6 separate regions of the Homo sapiens genome follow, and regions 1, 3, 4, 5 and 6 are each linked to region 2. The links are contacts of gene promoters, found by promoter capture Hi-C in blood cells and fetal thymus (Javierre and others, 2016). All regions are on one chromosome and are shown on one strand. The core of a region is centred on a gene start or on the middle of the fragment in contact, and the rest is flanking DNA. Distances in the headings are between cores, read along the strand shown.

Region 1 (3,138 bases), core at 433-2,932, 460 kb before region 2:
TTTCAGCATTTAGAAATAAGTTATTTAAGCAATCCTCACACTCATGGTTTATTCTGGAACTACCTTCAGACACACAGCTACAGATAGGGTATATAATGAGTATTTCCAAGGCTACACTCTGTAGGAAAAAACTTCATGAAGTCAGTGGGACCCTCTCATGGGAGGGTTTTAAGACCCACAATCAAAAAGGTGGGGAAACATTAGAGTGGAAGGAGGGCAGCAGAAGGTCAAGGACTTTCCCGGAGGCCTAACATACCCAACATTATTACCCTAGATGAAAACCAAATACATATCCTAACACCACATACTCTCTTCAATGTTTAACAGACAAAATGAAATGTATTCAAAGCTAAGCTTCCAGAATTCCACTTTACGCTATTAATGATGTTTTAATATCCCTCAATGTGTTGATATTAGGACATTTTTAAATATGAATACCATTTTCTGGTTATATATGGAAAATATCTTGATTTCTGAGATACAAAAATGCTCATTTTTAGATATACATGGTCTTGCACTTTTTTTATAAAATAAGGTGAAAAGACAGGAAAAATTTTTTCAGATCATGGAACTTGGATTAATAGGAGAAGAGTCATACAAATTTATTTAACATGTATATATGGGAGCCTTCAGAATGAAGACCCACCCAACAATAAGACAAAAAAGCTTATATTACCATTCTGAGGCCAAGAAAGAATGCAGACTTGGCTGGCCAAAAAATCCCGGGTTTGGTGGGTAAGTCAGGTTTAATGGCAAGACAGATTAGGGAAGAGGAAAGGAAGAAGCTTACCTCCTGTGTAGCTAAGGAGACCTTGTTATGTAGATGAAGGCTCCCTCATAGAGAATAGGTGGGAAATGCTGCTTTTCAGACTTTTATTTAGACTTTTAAGTAATAGGGACAGGATTATGCTATGTTGCCCAGGCTGTTATCTAATTCTTTTTCTCAAGCAATCCTCCCAGCTCAGTCTCCGAAAGTGCTAGGATTACAAGCATGAGCCGCCATACCCAGACAGGGTTTGTTCCCTTGTAAAGAATTATTTGTTGCTGGACACAGTGGCTCACAGAGGCCAAGGAAGGAGGATCACTTGAGCCCAGGAGCTCAAGACCTGCCATGGCAACATGACAAAACCTCTTCTCTACAAAAAATACAAAAAATTAGCTGGATATGGTGGCACGTACCTGTACTCCCAGCTATCCAGGAGGCTGAGGCAGAAGGATAACCTGAGCCTGGGAGATTGATGCTGCAGTGAACTGTGATTGCAGCACTGCACTCCGGCCTGGGCCACAGAGTGAGAGCCCTTCTAAAAAAAAAAAAAATATATATATATATATATATATATTTGTTCACTTATTGCAGCTTCAGATTTTTAAAATTAATTGTAAATTGCATTTTCACTACAGCTGGAAAAATAAGAAAATTTTGCACAGAGCCAAGATAAAAATAGATGTCAGAAATAAATCATTAGTCTTATATAGCATTTGTTTCAAAAAAAAAATTTTTTTTTTTTGAGACAAAGTCTCGCTCTCTCACCCAGGCTGGAATGCATTGGTGTGATCTCGGGGCATTGCAACCTCTGCCTCCTGGGTTCAAGTGATTCTCCTGCCTCAGCCTCCTGAGTAGCTGGGATCACAGGCACGTGCCACCACACCTGGCTAATTTTTGTATTTTTAGTAGAGATGGGGTTTCACGATATTGGCCAAGCTGGTCTCGAACTCCTGGCCTTGTTATCCACAAGCCTTGGCCTCCCAAAGTGCTGGGATTACAGGCGTGAGCCACCGCACCCAGTCTCAAAATTCTTAATTTTTTTCTTCTTCAGATGTGGTGTAGTACATTTCTTAAGTCTGTCCTTTTTTGTGGATGATTTCTTTATTTCTTTTTCTTTCTTTCTTTCCTTTTTTTTTTTTTAAGATAGGGTCTGGCTTTGTTGCCCAGACTGGGATGAGGTAGCACAATCTCAGCTCACTGCAATCTCCATCTTCCAGGCACAAGCTATCCTCCCACCTCAGCCTCCGTAGTAGCTGAGACCACAGGCACACACCACTACACCCAAAGTGCTGGTATTACAAGTTTGAGCCACAGTGCATGGCCATTTTTGGATGATTTGTAACAGAGTTTCAGGGCATAGCGTTGAGAATGCTGATTGGGAAAAGAAATAGAGAAAATCTTTTATTACAGCTTGAGAAAATGAATAATCTTCCACAATAAAGTATAGTAGATAAATTGGTGAATTACAAAGATTCAGCAAAATACCAGTCCTCCTTTGCAGGTTGGGGAACTTGTAATGGTGGATAACTCTTCTTCTTCCTGTTATCTGTGGGGTAAGACCTGGCTGGCAACTGTTGTCATATGTTTGTGTTCACATATGATTAATGTGTAGTATGTGCTTTGTTATCATGGAAATAATAATGAAATAATATTGTGCACCTTAATAAGATAATAAGATTCAGAGAATATGATTAAATGCTGAGTTTATCTGAGCACATAGTTTGAGGATAGCCACTGGGGAAACAGATATCCTGAAGAGTGGGGTCAGTGCTCCAACACGGGGAATTTGAGTCTTCTCTTCTATAGGGCAAAATGAAGCTTAACAGGGTGACATTTTCCATACAAGGCCGGTGCACACATTTCAGTGATTTGATAGGTTGCAGCTACCAAATTTCAAGGATGATTGCTTTAACTTTTTTTTTTGGATGGAGTCTTGTTCGGTCGCCCAGGCTGGAGTGCAATGGCGCAATCTCAGCTCACTGCAACCTCCACCTCCCGGGTTCAAGCAATTCTCCTGCCTCAGACTCCTGAGTAGCTGGGATTACAGGCACGTGCCACCATGCCCGGCTAATTTTAGTATTTTTAGTAAAGACGGAGTTCACCATGTTGGTCAGGCTGGTCTCAAACTCCTGACCTCATGATCCGCCTGCCTCGGCCTCCCAAAGTGCTGGGATTACAGGTGTGAGCCACTGCAGCCGGCCTGCTTTAACTTTTTGTAAGGAGGGGTAGTGGTCTCAAAAGGATCCTACCTCTGGCACTTCTCTGTCTTTTCTAATCATTTACAGCCTAAGAACAAGGAAGAGAATCTTTTTGACATGCACAGGGAAGGAGCAATTACATAGTAGTGTAAACACATTTCTCAATATGTTTAT
Region 2 (3,424 bases), core at 538-3,037:
CTGACCTCAGGTGATCCGCCCGCCTCGGCTTCCCAAAGTGCTGGGATTACAGGCGTGAGCCACCGCGCCCAGCCCAGGGGTTAGCTTTTTACAGGAATGATATACCAGAAGATTCCTCCCACCCCAGTGCATCCACCTGATCCTTTGGGAGGCCCCACTCCAACACCTCAGGCTGTCCTCTGGGAAGAGTGACCCAAGGGCCGATATCCACTAGGCCCTCCATGAGATTGGCAGCTTCCAGCATCTTAGGGTAGCCCCAGAAAGTTCCATAACACAGGGCCTGGAAAAGATACAGGGTGGGCTGAGGTCACATCACCCTGTAAAGGACATACTGAGAAGGCATCTGTGCCTAGGGGAGATAAAAGAGGCACAAAGGTTTGGTTTTTTTTACAGCAGTGTCAGGTGGTTATTCTCTTCTTCCTCACATGTGAAATGTTAAGGAAAACAAAATAAATCTGTTTAAAAAGAGCCATACATTGCTATCTGAAAACAAACGACAAAATTCTGTGTCTATTTGAAATATCGTCTTGCTGACAAAGGGTTCATAACGTTACTGGGAATTGAGGAGTGAAGTTAGCATATGGAAGGCTCTGGAAACCAAAAGATTTACTGTTAGCCCCAAGAGGAGTTAGGATGAAGGGACAGGTCTCAAAGACCCTGATGCCAATATCTTTGAAAGCCTCGGAGGAGAAATGGTCGCCCTTGGAAAGAAAGGACTGAAGAGCACAGAGACCACAGCTCCTCCCACACACAAACCCCACACACGAGTCTGGTTTGTGCCTAGTGACCCTCCCACCGTCACCGTGCAGCCTCCTCACCGGGCTCACAGGAACTGCGAGCCAGGCTGGAGGCGAGATTGCAGTTAGATATTAACCAGGTGCCCTCAGCCCCGCTGCTTCACAGGAAGCCGCCTCCCTGAGAGTCAGGTCACAGCAGACGCTGACCGCCGGCTTCCCCATTGGCCTGGGGATAAGATCTCTGAGAGTTGCTCAAGAGTCGTCTAAGTTCTTTCTCAGATCTTGAATTCCAGCGGAAAGGCTGGCGCCAAGCAGGCTGAAGACCCCACAAGGAAGCCCACTCAGCAGCAGAATGCGGTTTCTTCACCTCCAGTCCCAAGATTCACCCCTCACTTCTCCACCAACCAGCGACCCCACATCCCAACCACCCCCGTCCAGACCCCTAAACACCCCATCCTCAAACCTCTCACGGAGGCGGATCTAGGGTGTCCTCTCCTATTAAACCGTTTCTGCTGCAGCCCTCGGCGTCCGGGTGCAGTGACTTGGGCTGCGAACCTGTACTGGTTCCGCCGCACAATCTGGGGAGAAGCGGGGCTGAGGGCGCGGAGCTGCCCAGAGAGGGGCGCCGGGGCCGGGGCCGCAGTCGCAGCTCAGGGACGGGACAGGACGCCCGGGGTCCCGGCTGCCGGCCCAGCCCCACCCTGCGGCCAAACGGACCGAGGACCGAGGTGCGCAGGGGGCGCTCAGGTCCCAGACCCCAAAGACGCTGCGGCGAGGCCCGGGTCCCGCCACAGCCGGTTCCGACTGGTTCCGACCAGCCCTTCGCCCTGCCTCAGGACGCCGGGCCCCGCACACTCACCATTTCCCGGCTGTGCGGTGTCCCGGGTCCTCCCAACTCCCGTAGTCAGGGTAGGTCCCAGCGCGACAAAAGCCACCACAGATGTCCCAGGGCGTCTCTCAGTGACAGAATACGGAACAGAGGTCACCAGGGTGAAGAGGCCACTAGCTCCTGGAACGTCACACCCTCCTCTCTGCCTCGCGCCTGATTGACAATTCTCAGGAACCCGCCCACGACTTTGATTGGGTAGCCCTCCAGGTCCCGCCTCCTGGGCACTGAGTGACAGAAGAAGCGATCTCACAGTGCTGAGTGCAGCCGGATGAACAGGTTCCAGACCCGGCCCCTGGCAGGGCGGGCTTCCTCCCTGCGTTGTGACCCGACCCGTCCCGGGAAACGTTTGCCTTAAAGCGGAATTTCCTACCTGTACGCAGTGGGCCCTTTTTGCTTCTTCCTCCTGAACAATTGTGTGCAAGGAATCCCAGACTCACTGTCCAGTGGAGCCATCCCTTGGCCTCAGAGCAGGAGGGCAGCCGAGGCCACACAGGCCACACTGTAGCAGCGGGGGACAGGGGGTGGGTGGGTGGGGGGGTGGTGCTGATGTCCTCCAGGGACCAGGAATTTGGGATGAGGCTGTCGCCTGCAAGGTCAAGCCTTTCTTCCACTATAAGCGCTGGATGGGTTCTTTCTGCGCGCTACGCAAATAAAGACCACGGTATTGCAGTTAAAAAAAAAGTTTAATAAACACTAGGCCAGCTACGATACGTGAGAGACGGAGTTACTACTCAAATTATTCTCATCCAAGGTCCTCTGGTAGGGGTTTTTCAAGGGCAGTTTGGGAGAAAGGGTGGAGGTAGCTAGGCTTGCTACTGACTGGTTGGGGTGGGGATGAAATCACTGGGGATGGAATCTGTCCTCTTGGCAGTGCGTGGTGGCTCACCGCTGTAATCCCAATACTTTGGGAGGCCTAGGTGGGAGGATCGCTTGAGGCCAGTAGTTCAAGACCAGCCTGGACATAGAGTGAAACTCCGTCTCTATACTATAAGGGAGGAGACCACCCCTCATATTGTCTTATGCCCAATTTCTGCCTCCAAAGAAGAAGTAAAAACTAAAAGGCAGAAATGAAATCCACAGGCAGATAACCCGGCTTGTGCCCTGGGCTGGGTAGTTAAAAATCAACCTCTGACCTAACTGTGTTATCTATGATTCCAGACATTGTATGGAAAAGCACTGTGAAAATCCCTGTCCTGTTCTGTTCAGTTCTGGTTACCGGTGCATGCAGCCCCCAGTCACGTACCCACTGTTTGCTCCATCAATCACGACCCTCTCACGCGGACTCCTAGTTGTAAGCCCTTAAAAGGGACAAGAATTGCTCACTCGGGGAGCTCGGTTTTTGGAGACGTGAGTCCGCCGATGCTCCCAGCCCAGCTGAATAAAGCCCTTTCCTTCCACAACTCGGTGTCTGAGGGGTTCTTGTCTGCGGCTTGTACTGCTACATATTTAAAAAAGAAAAAAAGAGGCCGGGCCCGGTGGCTCACACCTGTAATCCCAGAACTTTGGGAGGCCCAGGCGGGCGGATCACCTGAGGTCGGGAGTTTGAGACCAGCCTGACCAACATGGAGAAAGCTCGTCTCTACTAAAAATACAAAATTAGCTGGGCGTGGTGGCACATGTCTGTAATCCCAGCTACCTGGGAGGCTAAGGCGGGAGAATCACTTGAACCCGGGAGGTGGAGGTTGCGGTGAGCTGAGATCGCGCCAAGCCGAGATCGTGCCTTTGCACTCCAGCCTGGGCAACAAGAGCGAAACTCCGTCTCAAAAAAAAACAAAAAAAAGACAAAAAAAAAAAAAAC
Region 3 (3,548 bases), core at 278-2,777, 410 kb before region 2:
AGTTTTTCTTTAAAGATTTAGCCTGCTAACTTCCTCGTCTTTTGTTCTCAAACTCAACTTTCCTGTTCCTCCTTGCCCCTAGTTACTTTAAAACAGCCTACCCCGTTCCCATCAGCTCTAATCAATAACTCACATCTGTTCCCTTGGTTACCTGTACCCATTGTTCCCCCAAAACTGCACATCTCACATGCTCCACCTCTGTACCTCACATCCCCCTCCCCTTCTATATTTAGAAAAATATGTACAAGCAGCCAATCGGGTCAGCTCAGACTGTGCGGTCCGACCCCAGCCCATGGGGGAGTAACACAGAGATAGGGACCGCATTAAGGATAAAAACCTCCTGGTCTCCTTTGTTCTCTGTGCTCTTGTGATCTTGATTGACGTGAGTGGCACCCTTCTGCAGTAGTAAATTGCCTTGCTGAGAGAATTAAAATTTTGCCTGAGTGCTGGTTTTACTTCACGGCACCAAGCTTTTATTCCGGGAGCATTTTATATCCAACAATTCTAGGGGATCGTCCGAGATCCCCATGCTCCTTTTGGAAGAGTTCTTCAGTCACCCTACCCTGGGGAGACGCGTCCCACTGCCCCATTGCGGTGGCCTCAGGGACAGGAGATCGAGACCCACCCATTTTGACGAATAAACCCGGACTCTCAGCAACGCGGGGAAGAGAGGCTTGCAATACCGCAGCGACCAGGTAAACTCTGTGCACAGACCAAGGTGGGAAACGTTGCAGGGGCAACAAAGTAATTCTTTGGTAGTCGGAGGGGTGTGTCAGGGCATTCTGGGGGTTGAAAGTGCATGAATGGTAACAAGCACTACTGCTGTGCGGAGCGAGTGAGTCCAATCTGCGGTTCTGTGGTCACCTCACACGGCTTAGGGCAGCCCTGCGGGGGTCCTGTCACAGGTTTATACGGACCTGCCATCAATGCTAAGAGGAACCTGAAACAAACCTGCGAGGGAAGCGGCCAGAGTGGATGAAGCGAAAGAAGGGTGCAAGGAACCTCCAGCAGGTGGAGCTAAAGGATAGTGGAATTGAGCCTTAGCCACACTTCCAGTGAGGGATAGGCAAAAGACCTCCTAATATGAGGGGTTGAGCCACAAGGAACCCCCCAAATAGGCAAGAGATCCTTAATTTGAGAGGCTGAGCCACAAGGAACCCCCAAAATAGGCAAGAGATCCTTAATATGAGGGGTTGAGCCACAGCAAGCCCCCCTAGGCAAGAGATTCCTATCACGAGGGATTGAGCCTAGCCAGGACCCAGTATAGGAAATATTACAAGCAAAAAAGACAAAGTTAGCAACAAAGATATCCCCCCTAATAGTCCCCTAGGTCTCATGTTAAAACATTAGAAAGATAATGAAAAGACTAAACATAAGAAAAAGCAATTAGTGATAAAATATTGCTGTTCCATTTAGACTCAAGAACGAATCCTTGAACCCTTAGTTTTCTGGCCAGAATTTAAGTCGAATGAGGGATGGATTTGTGAACTTCTAATAGAAAATGTTGCTAGTAGAAGACCTGCCTCCTGAGAAGAAACAAATTATGCCCTATGTTAGTTGCAAGGAGTTGTCCTTTCCCCTCCTCCAAGGATTGAAAGGAGCAAGTCAAAAACTAATATTTGGAGGAAAATGAGTTGTACATGTGCCCTATTAAGATAGAACCATCTTTAATGAAAAAGACAGTGAAGGAAGGGGCTTGGGGGATCCTAGCAAAAAGAACAACTCGCAAGATCCCCTAGACCATTCCCCACCTAATACCCAACCCTTCCCCTCAGGCATCGCCCAGTAAGTCTGTTCTTCCCCAGCCTAAGTCCCTCTCCCCTAAAGAACTCCAAGCTCCTAATTCACCAGATGGCTTTTGCCAGGCTAGCAACATGAAGGATCTGCCGCAACATGTTGTCAGCGTTGTCTGGCCCATAGTGCACCCCTGCAGCGGCAAAGCCCATGCTCCTGCCCACTGGCTGGTCCAAGGTCCTGGCACTGTATTGACGGCAGCTCTGCATGACATGCGAGCCAGGCCCCAGCCTATGCCCCATGCAAACTACATTATAGGATATCTGCCTTACTTTGCTGAGGCTAAGTAATACGGGGCTTCAGCGATGGCTCCAAGCAGCCTGGCATCCCCGCAGCTAAGTTTCCTGAGCAAGAAGTAGATAATCTTTCAGCGGATATATCCACTAGCATTTATTATAGTCAGGCCAGTGTTAAAAGTGAAAATATCCACCAGAAAAGAACTCTGATTCTTTAAAGTCACCTATGTTAAAATGTACCACCAAAAAAGAATTACATGTGTATAAATATGAGGCTATTCTGTTAAAAATGATAGTTTAATGTTACTAGTAATTTGCTTAACCTAACAAGTTTCTTAACGAAAGATCCAAATCTAAAAAGGAAGCACACATGTTTAGATTTAACTGATTACCATACAAATGTCCGGCCAAACTTAAGAGAAACCCCCTTCAAAAATGATTAAAGGAAAAAGGATTCAACAGATGTTCAATAATAAATAGAGAAGTTCCTAGAGAAATAAAATTTAAAAATTGTTTAATAGTTTACCCAAATTTGTAAGCTGTTTGCACTTAGTCAAGCTTTAAAGTAACTGCAAAGGAACCATCTATACTAATCTATATTGATTCTAAATACACCTTTATCGTGGCTCATACATTTAGAAAATTTCAGACAATAATAAAGGTCAAAGCCTTGTTCATGAAGAGTTAATAACCCAAGTGTTAAATAACCTTCAGTTACCAGAAAAAAAAAAAAAGCTATTTTCCACGTCCCCAGGCACCAAAAATCCTATCTTTCAAGAGTTAAGAAAATAACCTAGCAAATCAGATAATCCGAACCAGCTGCCGTTTCTCCTGTAGGCACTGAAGGGAATTCAAATGTTATTTAAACCTCTTATGAAAGAAGTCCTATCCCACCTAAATTAGAGGACCCATTAAAGACCTCAAGCTATGTATAGCACAGTTAAAGTTTATATGTGTATGAAAATGTACATCCTTAGCCAAACAAGTCTAGAAACTTAGTTGCCATAACTCAAATGTCTTCTGTCTTCCTATTAATCCAAACTACCTCTCAAAGCAATCCACTGCCAACATTCCTACATACTTGGTTTATCTTCCACTTTCTCTTCCCTCAAAACTCACAATTTTCCAGTACAGGTGCGGCTCCTGGAGTTCCCAGTGCGTCAACACCGGCCTGAGGAGCTGGCCTAGTACTTCCCACCATTGAAACTGCAGTCTGGACAGCAGAGAAAGGATAGACCCATCACACCCGAGTCAAGAAAGCACCGCCACCCCCAAAGTCGTAGGCCATTATTCCAGGGGAAAACCCCCTCAAACTAAAGCTAAGAAAAATTTAACCTCTTACATCTATTCTATTACTCTTTCTTCTTTTCCCCTTCCAATGCTGACCACCTTGTCATTAATGTAACTCAATCAAACTCACCCCAAGTTATCACGTTTAATGCTATGTCTAGTCATACCCTGTAAAGATCTCCAAAGTCAAAGACAAGTCTCAGCCTCAGAAAAGTATCTCTGCCCCTT
Region 4 (3,190 bases), core at 145-2,644, 340 kb after region 2:
AAGTTAAAAATTTTTTATCACTGGCTCATTCTTCAAGTACATCTCTGGACTATGAATTGTAACTTAACTACTTTTCCAAGAAGTCTTGGAAGTGAGATAATTCTGTAAGTACTCTTTAAGCAGTGGTCAAAAGTTTAAAAGGTTGTGTTTTCTCATTAAATCAGTTAGTAAAACTTTTCTCTTTCTCTTGATGTCTTGATTCATGAGTAAACTGAAGTGTATTTTTTTTTTTTCGAGACGGAGTCTTGCTCTGTTGCCCAGGCTGGAGTTCAGCGGTGTGATCTCGGCTCACTGCAAGCTCCGCCTCCCGGGTCCACGCCATTCTCCTGCCTCAGCCTCCCCAGTAGCTGGGACTGCAGGCGCCCGCCACCATGCCCAGCTAATTTTTTTTGTATTTTTAGTAGAGATGGGGTTTCACCGTGTTAAGCCAGGATGGTCTCAATCTCCTGACCTCGTGATTCGACCGCCTCAGCCTCCCAAAGTGCTGGGATTACAAGCTTGAGCCACCGCACCCGGCCTGAAGTGTATTTTTTTTTTCTTTTAAAGACCAGTGTTAGTAGAAGTGTATTTTTAATATACAATTAGTTTTAATTTGTGTATAGTTTTTCAGTTGTTCTCTGAATAAAGAGATTGTTGAATACTGACACACTGTAACTAGGATTTTTCCTACTGGCCTCATGTGGAAGGTGGTGCATATATTACCCATTATATATTTATTTCACCTTTTCCGAAAAACTGCTTTTTAAATTTCTTGGCCAGACACGGTGGCTCACTCCTTTGTAATTCCAGCACTTTGGGAAACCAAGGCAAGCAGATCACTTGAGGTCAGGAGTTCGAGACCAACCTGGCCAACATGGTGAAATCCCATCTCTACTAAAAATACAAAAATTAGCTGGGCATGTTGGAGGGCACCTGTAATCTCAGCTACTTGGGAGGCTGAGGCAGGAGAAATGCTTGAACCTGGAAGTCAGAGGTTGCAGTGAGCCAAGATCACACCACTGCACTCCAGCCTGGACAACAGAACGAGACTCCATATCAAAAAAATTAAATTAAAATATAATAAATTTCTTGCCGGGCGCAGTGGCTCACACCTGTAATCCCAGCACTTTGGGAGGCCGAGGTGGGCGGATCACGAAGTCAGGAGATTGAGACCATCCTGGCTAATACAGTGAAACCCCGTCTCTACTATAAATACAAAAAATTAGCTGGGCATGGTGGCGGGCGTCTGTAGTCCCAGCTACTCAGGAGTCTGAGGCAGGAGAATGGTGTGAACCCGGGAGGCGGAGCTTGCAGTGAGCCGAGATCGTGCCACTGCAATCCAGCCTGGGCAGCAGAACGAGACTCCATCTCAAATAAATAAATAAATAAAATGAATTTCAGCTAGAAGAGCCTTATTCCATTTTCCTTTTTATTAAACATCTGGCATAAGTTGGTAAGTATGTGAAGTTTATCATATATTCTTATGCGAATTATTATTTTCGCCTTTTTTTTATAATTCTGTCTGGGATTTGAATAGTAGAGTTTGAATTCAGGAAGGACACCTGTGATAGGACAATAAAATCTAGAGCTGGACGTGGCCCTCCTGCTACCTGTCGACACAGGTAAATTTCCTAGAATCTGTTCCCTTTATAGATCCATGTTGAAATTCACTTATAGCCTCACTTGCATGAGATTTGCCAGGCAGAAGTGAAGAAGACATTAGTCAGGTATTGGAACCCCACCATACAGGGAGACAGCCTGCTTCCTGCTCATTTTCCTGGTTATTTTCTCTGCCAATCAAAAGTATCCTGAAAACACCCTGAGCTGCTTGACTTCCATTCTCAAAGAGATGTGTTGGTTTCCACAGTTGTCTCCACAAGCTCCGCATCAAAGATCCACGTACAGTTTGGATTTTCCTTCTAGCCTTCATGTGTGGCCCAAGCATCTATTTCAGACTGTCATGGTTGGCATTGTTCTCTGAGGTTCTGTCTTCCCTTTGTGTTTCTATGAGCTTTAATTTGTATGGTTCTTGTTCTGTTAATGCCACTAGGGACTATGTATTCCTGATTCCACCATGACAGCTACAGTAAAACAGTAAAAAAAAAAAAAAACAACTATATGGGAGTTTGTTCTCTTACTGCATTATACAGTGACTACTCTCCCCCATCCTTCCATTTGAGAATAATCACCTTCCTCATATCAGACAAATTGTGGGTGTTTCCAACTATTCCTGAATATTCTCCATCGGTTTATTTTCATTTATGTTTGGTTGTATGCAACTAAAATAATGCATTTTTTATTTATTTGAAGCAAAAGCTTCTTAGATGTTTCTTAGAAATATTTTGTTAACTGTTTCCAAACAACATGTATACTATCAAATATTATCATCATCTGGGTGCAGTGGCTCATGGCTGTAATCCCAACAATTTGGGAGGCTGAGGCAGGATTGCTTGAGGCCTGAAGTTGGAGACCAGCCTGGGCAACATAGTAAGACCCCATCTCTATTAGTTCAAAAACAAATAATTGTCTTCCCCGTTTCCTGAAAGGCTATATTAAAATATCCCATTACAGTTATGAATATTCAGATCAACTTTGTCATTTTGTCAAGATACATTCTGACTCAATATTAGCATGTGCATAAATGTTCTGGTATTTTTCCCTTAGATGTTTTTTATTCTTATACTTACATTTTGTCATAAAACAAAATTCTCTTCAAAACAGTGGTATTTTCAGTGCCCTATTGCCAGCAATCACCACGGTCACACCTGTATTCAGAATTAATTATGGTAATACAGTAGTCAATTCTGATCCAAAGTTTTGCTTTCTGTGGTTTTAGTCACTCATGGTCAAACACAGTCCAAAAATACTTAGTGGAAAATTCCAGAAATAAATGTTTCATAGACTTATTTATTTATTTATTTATTTGAGACAGAGTCTCACTCTGTCGCCTAGGCTGGAGTGCAATGGCGCGATCTCAGCTCACTGAAACCTCTGCCTCCGAGGCTCAAGCAATTCTCCTGCCTCAGCCTCCCGAGTAGCTGGGATTACAGGCATGTGCCAACATGCCCAGCTAATTTTTGTATTTTTGGTAGAGATAGGGTTTCACCATGTTGGTCAGGCTGGTCTGGAACTCCTAGCCTCAGGTGATCCACCCACCTCAGCCTCCCAAAGTGCTGGGATTCCTCCCATCTTACACATGAAAAAACAGAGG
Region 5 (3,296 bases), core at 57-2,556, 500 kb before region 2:
AGAGCGACTCCATTCTGAGGGCTAGGAAAGTGAGGCTGGGAATTGCTGGGCTTCATTCCCAGAAAGTTAGGCATACCTCGCTTCTAGGTGTTTACAGTTAAAGGAACAAATTAATAATGTTTACCAAGACCCAGACTTGGTAGTGTCCAGATATCCCAATATCTGGAGAACAAAGGCATTTCTAATTTTGCTTTAAAGATAATAATATCAATTCTTGCAAAATATAGTAATTAAGAAAATTAATCCTTTATCATGGACCCTTATAGCAGAGCACATCTGCCCATATATACAAGCATCATTGTACCTAGGGTGGATGCGTTCCTCCTCTTACTTACAGAAACATCCAACTCTTTCTGGGGAGTAGCTGTTCTTTCACCACTTTACTTTCTTAATAAACTTGCTTTTACTTTGCACTGCAGACTTGCCTTGAACTCTTTCTTGCAGGAAATTCGAAAACCCTCTCTTGGGGTCTGGATTGGGACCCCTGTCCTGTAACATTGCCTCCAACTTTGTTCTTTTTGTTTAGGATTGCTTTGGTTATTCGGGCACTTTTTTGGTTCTATATGAATTTTAGGATTGTTTTTCCTAATTATGTGAAAACTAACATTGGTATTTTGATAAGAATTGCATTGACTCTGTAGATTGCTTTGGGAAGTATAGTCATTTTAATGATATTAATTCTTTCTGAATAATTAATGAAATTAATTCTTCTGATATTAGTTCTTTCCATAAGCATGAAATGTTTTTTCCATTTGTTTGTGTCATCTGTAATTCTTTAATCAGTGTTTTATAGATTTTTTCTTTTTGTAGAGGCCTTTCACCTCCTTGGTGCAATATATTCCCATGTGGGGTGGGGTGTTATTTGGTAGCTCTCGTAAGTGGTATTGCTTTCTCGATTTGGTTCTCAGCTAGATTGTTGTTGCTGTATAGAAACACTGCTGACTTTTGTACACTGACTTTGTATCCTGAAACTCCTGAATTAATTTAACTAATCTAAGAGATTTTTGGTGGAGTCTTAAGCGTTTCTAGATGTAAGATTATATATCACTGAACAGGAATAATTTGACTTCCTCTTTTCCAATTTGCATGTCTTTTATTTCTTTCTCTTGCCTGATTGCTCTGGCCAAGACTTCCTATACTAGGGTTGAATAAGAGTGGTGAAAGTAGGCATCCTTAATCTTGTTCTAGTTTTTATCATTCAACTATTTCCCCATTCAGTATGATGTTGGCTGTGTGTTTATCATGTGTGGCTTTTATTATTTTGAGATATGTTCATTCTGTACCTAGTTTTTTGAGCTTTTATCATGAAGGATGCTGAATTTTATCAAGTGTGTTTTCTAAATCTATTGAGATGATCATATGGTTTTTATTCTTCATTCTGTTTTTGTGATGTGTTACATATATTAACTTGTGTGTGTTGGACCATTTTTGCATTCCTGGTATAAAACCTACTTTATCATGCTGTATTATCTTTTTAATGTGCGGTTGGATTCAGTTTGCTAGTGTTTTGTTGGGGATTTTCACATCCGTGTTCATCGGGGATATTGGTCTGTAGTTTTGTTGTTGTGTCCTTGTCTGTTTTTGGTATTAGGATGTTACTGGCCTCATAGAATGAGTTAGGGAGATTTCCCTTGTCTGTGATTTTTAGGGACAGTTTCAGGATTATTAGTATAGTTCTTTTTGTATGTTTGGTATAATTTTTTTAATGTTGATTTTTAAATTTTTATTTTTTTACTTAGAGATGGGATCTTGTTATGTTGGCCAGGGTGGTCTCAAACTCCTGGCCTCAAGCAATCCTCCTGTCTCAGGCTCCACAGTGCTATGATTACAGGCATGAGCCACCACATCTGGCCTATTTGGTACAATTTTGGTATAAATCTGTCTGGCCCAGAGCTTTCATTTTTGGGAATTTTTTTATTGCTGATTCAATATTGCTACTTATTATTGGTCTATTCAGGATATCTGTTTCTTCTTGGTTCAATCCTGGGAGGTTATACGTTTCAAAAAAACCTATAGGTTTTCTAGGTTGTGAGCATATAGTTGTTCATAGTAGTCTCTGATGGTATTTCTGTGGTATTGGTGTAATGTCTTCTTTTTCAATTCTGGTTTTGTTCATTTGAATCTTCTTTTTTTTCTTGGTTAGTCTAGCCAGCAGTTTATTACTTTTGTTGATATTTTCAAAGAACCAACTTTTTGTTTCGTTTATCATTTGTGTTGTTTTTTAGTCTTGATTTTGTTTAATTCTGCTCTGATCTTTGTTATTTCTTTTCTGCCAACTTTGGATTTGTTTTGTTCTTGTTTTCCTAGTTCCATGGGGTACCATGTTAGGTTGTTAATTTGTTACTTTTTTGACAGAGGCATATAATTCTATAAACTTCCCTCTTAGCATGACTTTTCCTATATCCCAGAGGTTTTGATATGTTGTGTTGCCATTTTTGTTCATTTCAAACAAAATTTTTATTTTCTGTTTTTATTTCTTCTTTGACTCAGAGATCATTCAGGAGCACATTGTTTAATTTCCATGTATTTATACAGTTTTCAAAGTTCCTCTTGGTATTGATTTTTAGTTTTATTCAGCAGTCTGAGAAGATGCTTGAAATGATTTTGACTTTAAAATTTGTCGAGACTAGTTTTGTGGCCTAACATATGGTCTACCTTGGAGAATGTTTCACGTACTGATGAGAAGAATGTATATTCTGCAGTTGTTGGGTTCTGTAAACGTCTGTTAGCTCCATTTGGTCCAAAGTCCAACTTAAGTCCAATTTTTTTGTTGATTGTCTGTCTTGATGATATATCTACTACTGTGTGTGAGGTGCTGAAGTCCCATACTATTATTGTATTGCTATCTATATCTTTCTTTAGGTCTAGAAATATTTGCTTTATTAATTTGGCCTCTCCAATGTTGGATGCATATATATTTAGTATTACTATATTATCTTGCTGAATTGATTCTGTTATCAGTATCTCATGATCTTCTTTGTCTTTTTGTACTGTTTTTTATTTAAAGTCTATTTTATCTGATACAACTATCACAACTCTTGCTGAAGCACAGTGGCGAGATCATAGGTCACTGAAGCTTCAAACTCCTGGGCTCAAGATCTTCCCACCTCAGCCTCCCGAGTAGCTGGGACTACAGGTTCAGGACACCACGCACTGCTAATTTTTAAATTTTTAGTACAGACGAGGTGTGGCTCCGTTTTCCAGGATGATGAACTCCTGGGTTCAAGCAGTCCTCCCGCTTCAGCCTCCAAAAGGGTTGGGATTATAGGCGTGAGCCCCCGCACCCTGCCTGCAAG
Region 6 (3,516 bases), core at 353-2,852, 430 kb before region 2:
ATTGCTTGAGGCCAGCAGTTAGAGACCAGCCTGGTAGATACAGTGTGAGAACTCCTCTATTTTTTTTTTTTTAAGACTCACCTTGTTTGATTCTAATTTTGGCAGTTATGAGTAAGGCTGCTAAAAATGTTTGTGGGAGGACTTTTGTGTGGACATCAGTTTTCAGTTCACTTGGGTCAATATGTAGGAATGAGACTACTGAATCCATAAGACCGTGCTTATTTTCTTCAGAACTCCACAGACTGTCTTTCAAATTGGCTGTAGAATTTTCCATTCACATCCCTAGTGAATGAGAGTTCACTGTCACCAGCATTTGGAAGTATCAGTGTTTTGGATTTCATCTACCGCAACAGGTATTTACTGTTACCTCATTGTTGTTTTCTGTTGTTTTTTTTTTTCTTCTTTTGGAGACGGAGTTTTGCTCTTTTTGCCCAGGCTGGAATGCAATGGCGTGATCTCAGCTCACTGCAGCTTCTGCCTCCCCAGTTCCAGTGATTCTTCTGCCTCAGCCTCCCAAGTAGCTGGGATTACAGGCATGTACCGCCATGCCCAGCCAATTTTTGTATTATTAGTAGAGATGAGATTTTACCTTGTTGGTCACGCTGGTCTCAAACTCCTGACCTCAGGTGATCCACCTGCCTCGGCCTCCCAAACTGTTGGATTATAGACATGAGCCATCGTGCCCAGCCTGTTTTCATTTGCTCTTTAATAACATGTAATGTAGAGCATCCTGTCATATGTTTGTTTGCCATAATTATGTTCTTTAGAGAGAGGTATGCTTGGAAAGATTTTGCTTTTTTTTTTTTTTTTTTTTTGAGTTGTAGTCTGGCTCTCTGGCCCAGGCTGGAGTGCCGTGGCACAGTCTCGGCTCAGCTCACTGCAACCTCTGCCTCCCAGGATCAAGTGATTCTCCTGCCTCAGCCTCCCGAGTAGCTGGGATTACAGGCTCATGCCACCACGCCCAGCTAATTTTTGTATTTTTAGTAGAGGCGGGGTTTCACCATGTTAGCCAGGTTGGTCTCAACCTCCTGACCTCAGTGATCTACCCTCCTCAGCCTCCCAAAGTGCTGGGATTACAAGCATGAGCCACCATGCCCGGCCTTTTTATTTTTTGATTAGTTGGCTTTTTTCTTATAGAATTCTAGGAGTTCTTCATATCTTTTGGGTACCAGTCCTTGATCAGATAGGTGTCCTGCAAATATTGTGTCCCAGTCTGCCACCTGTCTTTTTATTCTCTTAACAGACTCTTTTCCCAAACAGAGTTTTATTTTGAATGAAGTCCAATTTATCGATTTTCTCACTCACAGATCATGTTTTTTGTGTTGTGTGTGAAACCTGATTGCCAAATCCAAGGTTGTCTTGGTTTTCACAAGTGTTAAGTTCTAGAAGTTGTGAGTTTTGCATTTTCCATTTAAGTAAATGATTCATCAGGAGGTAGTTTTGTAAAAGGTTCAGTTCTGTGTCTAATTCATTTCTTTGCATTTGCTAATCCAGGTGTTTCAGTACCATTTGTTTTGTGCCACCATGTCTAATTATTTATTTTATTATGGATACAGGGTCTCACTATGTTGCCCAGGCTGGTCTCGAACTGCGGGGCTCAAATGATCTGTCCGCCTTGACCTCCGGTTTTGCATTTTTAATACTTGTCTTTATAGTAGATTTTTCTATGTTCCTAGTGCCTCTCTTGCGATCATATGGAATCTTCTCTTGTATATTTAGTTTATTAAGTGTTTTTAATCATGAGGAGATATCAACCCATTTATGCTAGAGGTTGCAATTTTTTGAATTGCAGACGTGTGAAAAATCAGACTTTGGTAATGACCTTGAGCAGTAGGATACAAATAACTCCCACATGCTTAGCGTTCCAGAAATGGAACAGTGGGCTCAAATGGGTTAAGGCTTGTCACATGCCTTTTCTGCCTCTATTAGGACATTCTTCTCATTTTTTGTTTGATTTGAGATGGAGTCTCACTCTGTCGCCCAGGCTAGAGTGCAATGGTGGGATTTTGGCTCACTGCAACCTCTGCCTCCCGGGTTCAAAGGATTCTCCCACCTCAGCCTTCCAAGTAACAGAGAATACAGGCACTCGCTGCACGCCTGGCTAATTTTTGTGTTTTTAGTAGAGATGGAGTTCCACCATGTTAGCCAGGCTGGTCTCACACTGCTGACCTCAAGTGAACCACCTACCTTGGCCTCCTAAAGTGCTGGGATTGCAGGCATAAGCCAACACGCCTGGCTGCTACCGTGATTTGTTATCAATACTTACTATAAAACAAAACTTAAAAATTATCAGCTTAAGGAATTTTACATGTACAATTGAGATAGGTTGACAAATCTATGTAAGTTCTCTAAGATGAATTCTGTTGTATTTTGCCTTTTGCAATTATCCTGATGTTTCATATATGTCGTAGTATGGGCCAAGATATTGTTTTCTTTCTTTCTTTTTTTTTTTTGAGATGCAGTTTCACTCTTGTTGCCCAGGCTGGAGTGCAATGGCACAATATTGACTGACCCCAACCTCAAGCAATTTTCCTGCCTCAGCCTCCTGAGTAGCTGGGATTACAGGCATGCGCCACCATGCCCGGCTAATTTTGTATTTTTAGTAGAGACAAGGTTTCTCTATGTTGGTCACACTGGTCTTGAACTCCCAACCTCAGGTGATCTGCCCGCCTCCACCTCCCAAAGTGCTGGGATTACAGGCATGAGCCACCGCACCAGGCCAAGATGTTATTTTCTAAGACTAAATAATATTCCATTGTATGTATATGCTTACCACATTTTGTTTATCCATTCAGCCATCAATGGATATGTGGGTGGCTGCATTGCTCATTACTGCCACCCCAGGAAGGTCGTATAGTGGTTAAATCTGTGCTCATTACACCTGGGTATCTCTTAGGAGTTTCTTGTTTGCCCTCTTGTGTAATTACGGTCTTGTTTTTTTCAGTAATGTCCTGTTTGCCCTTCTTATCAGCATCTATCTAGCTACATTCTGACAGGATAACTGCAAACTGAATGATTCCTGGGCATCATAATGGATGTTTCTTTCTACTTAGGTGTCTCCCCTCCTCTCTGCTTATATCTAGCATGCCTGTTTTGGGTGGTCCCTGGGGTTGTGGGATTTCCCAGGGGCTACCCTTCCTGCTCTTGGCTAGATATCTGCCTTCTCTAACAATGTCATCAAAGATTACACTTTGGGAACAGGCATTTTCAAGGATACACAGCTTCAGGACTGCTAATGTTAACTTTTTTCTGCATATTAATTCATAGTACTCTGTTATGACAGGTGCTACAGACCCACAGTCCAAGGAGACATTAGGGACAGCCCAAGCAGCTGACAGAGCGATACACTATCACAAAAAAAAAAAAAAAAAAAAAAAAAAAATTGCTGTCTGGGTGTGGTGGCTCATGCCTGTAATCCTAGCACTTTGTGACTCTGAGGCAGGTGGATCACCTGAGGTTGGGAGTTCGAGACCAGCCTGACCAACATGGAGAAACCCTGTCTCTACTAAAAATACA

What was found. The method cuts DNA at HindIII sites, captures the fragments that hold promoters and counts their contacts. A CHiCAGO score of 5 or more calls a contact.
Region 1: a contact is called between a fragment that was not itself captured here and the fragment with the promoter of ZNF44 in region 2, in 4 of 17 cell types (M1 macrophages, monocytes, M2 macrophages and 1 more). The highest score is 7.3, in M1 macrophages.
Region 3: a fragment that was not itself captured here is called in contact with the fragment with the promoter of ZNF44 in region 2 in 4 of 17 cell types (erythroblasts, total CD4 T cells, monocytes and 1 more); the score reaches 7.8 in erythroblasts.
Region 4: a fragment that was not itself captured here is called in contact with the fragment with the promoter of ZNF44 in region 2 in 1 of 17 cell types (erythroblasts); the score reaches 5.5 in erythroblasts.
Region 5: a fragment that was not itself captured here is called in contact with the fragment with the promoter of ZNF44 in region 2 in 1 of 17 cell types (monocytes); the score reaches 6.6 in monocytes.
Region 6: a contact is called between a fragment that was not itself captured here and the fragment with the promoter of ZNF44 in region 2, in 1 of 17 cell types (monocytes). The highest score is 5.2, in monocytes.

What each region holds. Positions count from the first base shown.
Region 1 is chr19:11,836,764-11,839,901 of GRCh38, forward strand. No RefSeq gene overlaps it. Among named protein-coding and RNA genes, the nearest start is that of ZNF439, 10 kb to the right of the region's middle. The HindIII fragment of the contact is 1,799 bases long and covers 784-2,582 here.
Region 2 is chr19:12,293,096-12,296,519 of GRCh38, forward strand. It overlaps ZNF44 (zinc finger protein 44), which reads right to left and starts at 1,788. Exons shown (of 4, transcript NM_016264.4): 1 at 1,597-1,788. The coding sequence starts at 1,599. RefSeq lists a silencer at 1,343-1,572 and an enhancer at 2,123-2,172. The HindIII fragment of the contact is 16,141 bases long and covers 1-3,424 here.
Region 3 is chr19:11,880,387-11,883,934 of GRCh38, forward strand. No RefSeq gene overlaps it. Among named protein-coding and RNA genes, the nearest start is that of ZNF69, 5.6 kb to the right of the region's middle. RefSeq lists an enhancer at 935-1,114. The HindIII fragment of the contact is 2,118 bases long and covers 469-2,586 here.
Region 4 is chr19:12,631,745-12,634,934 of GRCh38, forward strand. It overlaps ZNF791 (zinc finger protein 791), which reads left to right. Exons shown (of 4, transcript NM_153358.3): 4 at 1-2,090. LOC105372279 (a long non-coding RNA gene) reads right to left here. Exons shown (of 4, transcript XR_007067142.1): 4 at 1,395-2,744. Among named protein-coding and RNA genes, the nearest start is that of ZNF791, 22 kb to the left of the region's middle. The HindIII fragment of the contact is 1,798 bases long and covers 496-2,293 here.
Region 5 is chr19:11,794,187-11,797,482 of GRCh38, forward strand. No RefSeq gene overlaps it. Among named protein-coding and RNA genes, the nearest start is that of ZNF491, 2.7 kb to the right of the region's middle. The HindIII fragment of the contact is 3,535 bases long and covers 1-3,074 here.
Region 6 is chr19:11,862,359-11,865,874 of GRCh38, forward strand. All of the region lies in intron 1 of ZNF439 (zinc finger protein 439), which reads left to right. Among named protein-coding and RNA genes, the nearest start is that of ZNF439, 15 kb to the left of the region's middle. The HindIII fragment of the contact is 6,893 bases long and covers 1-3,516 here.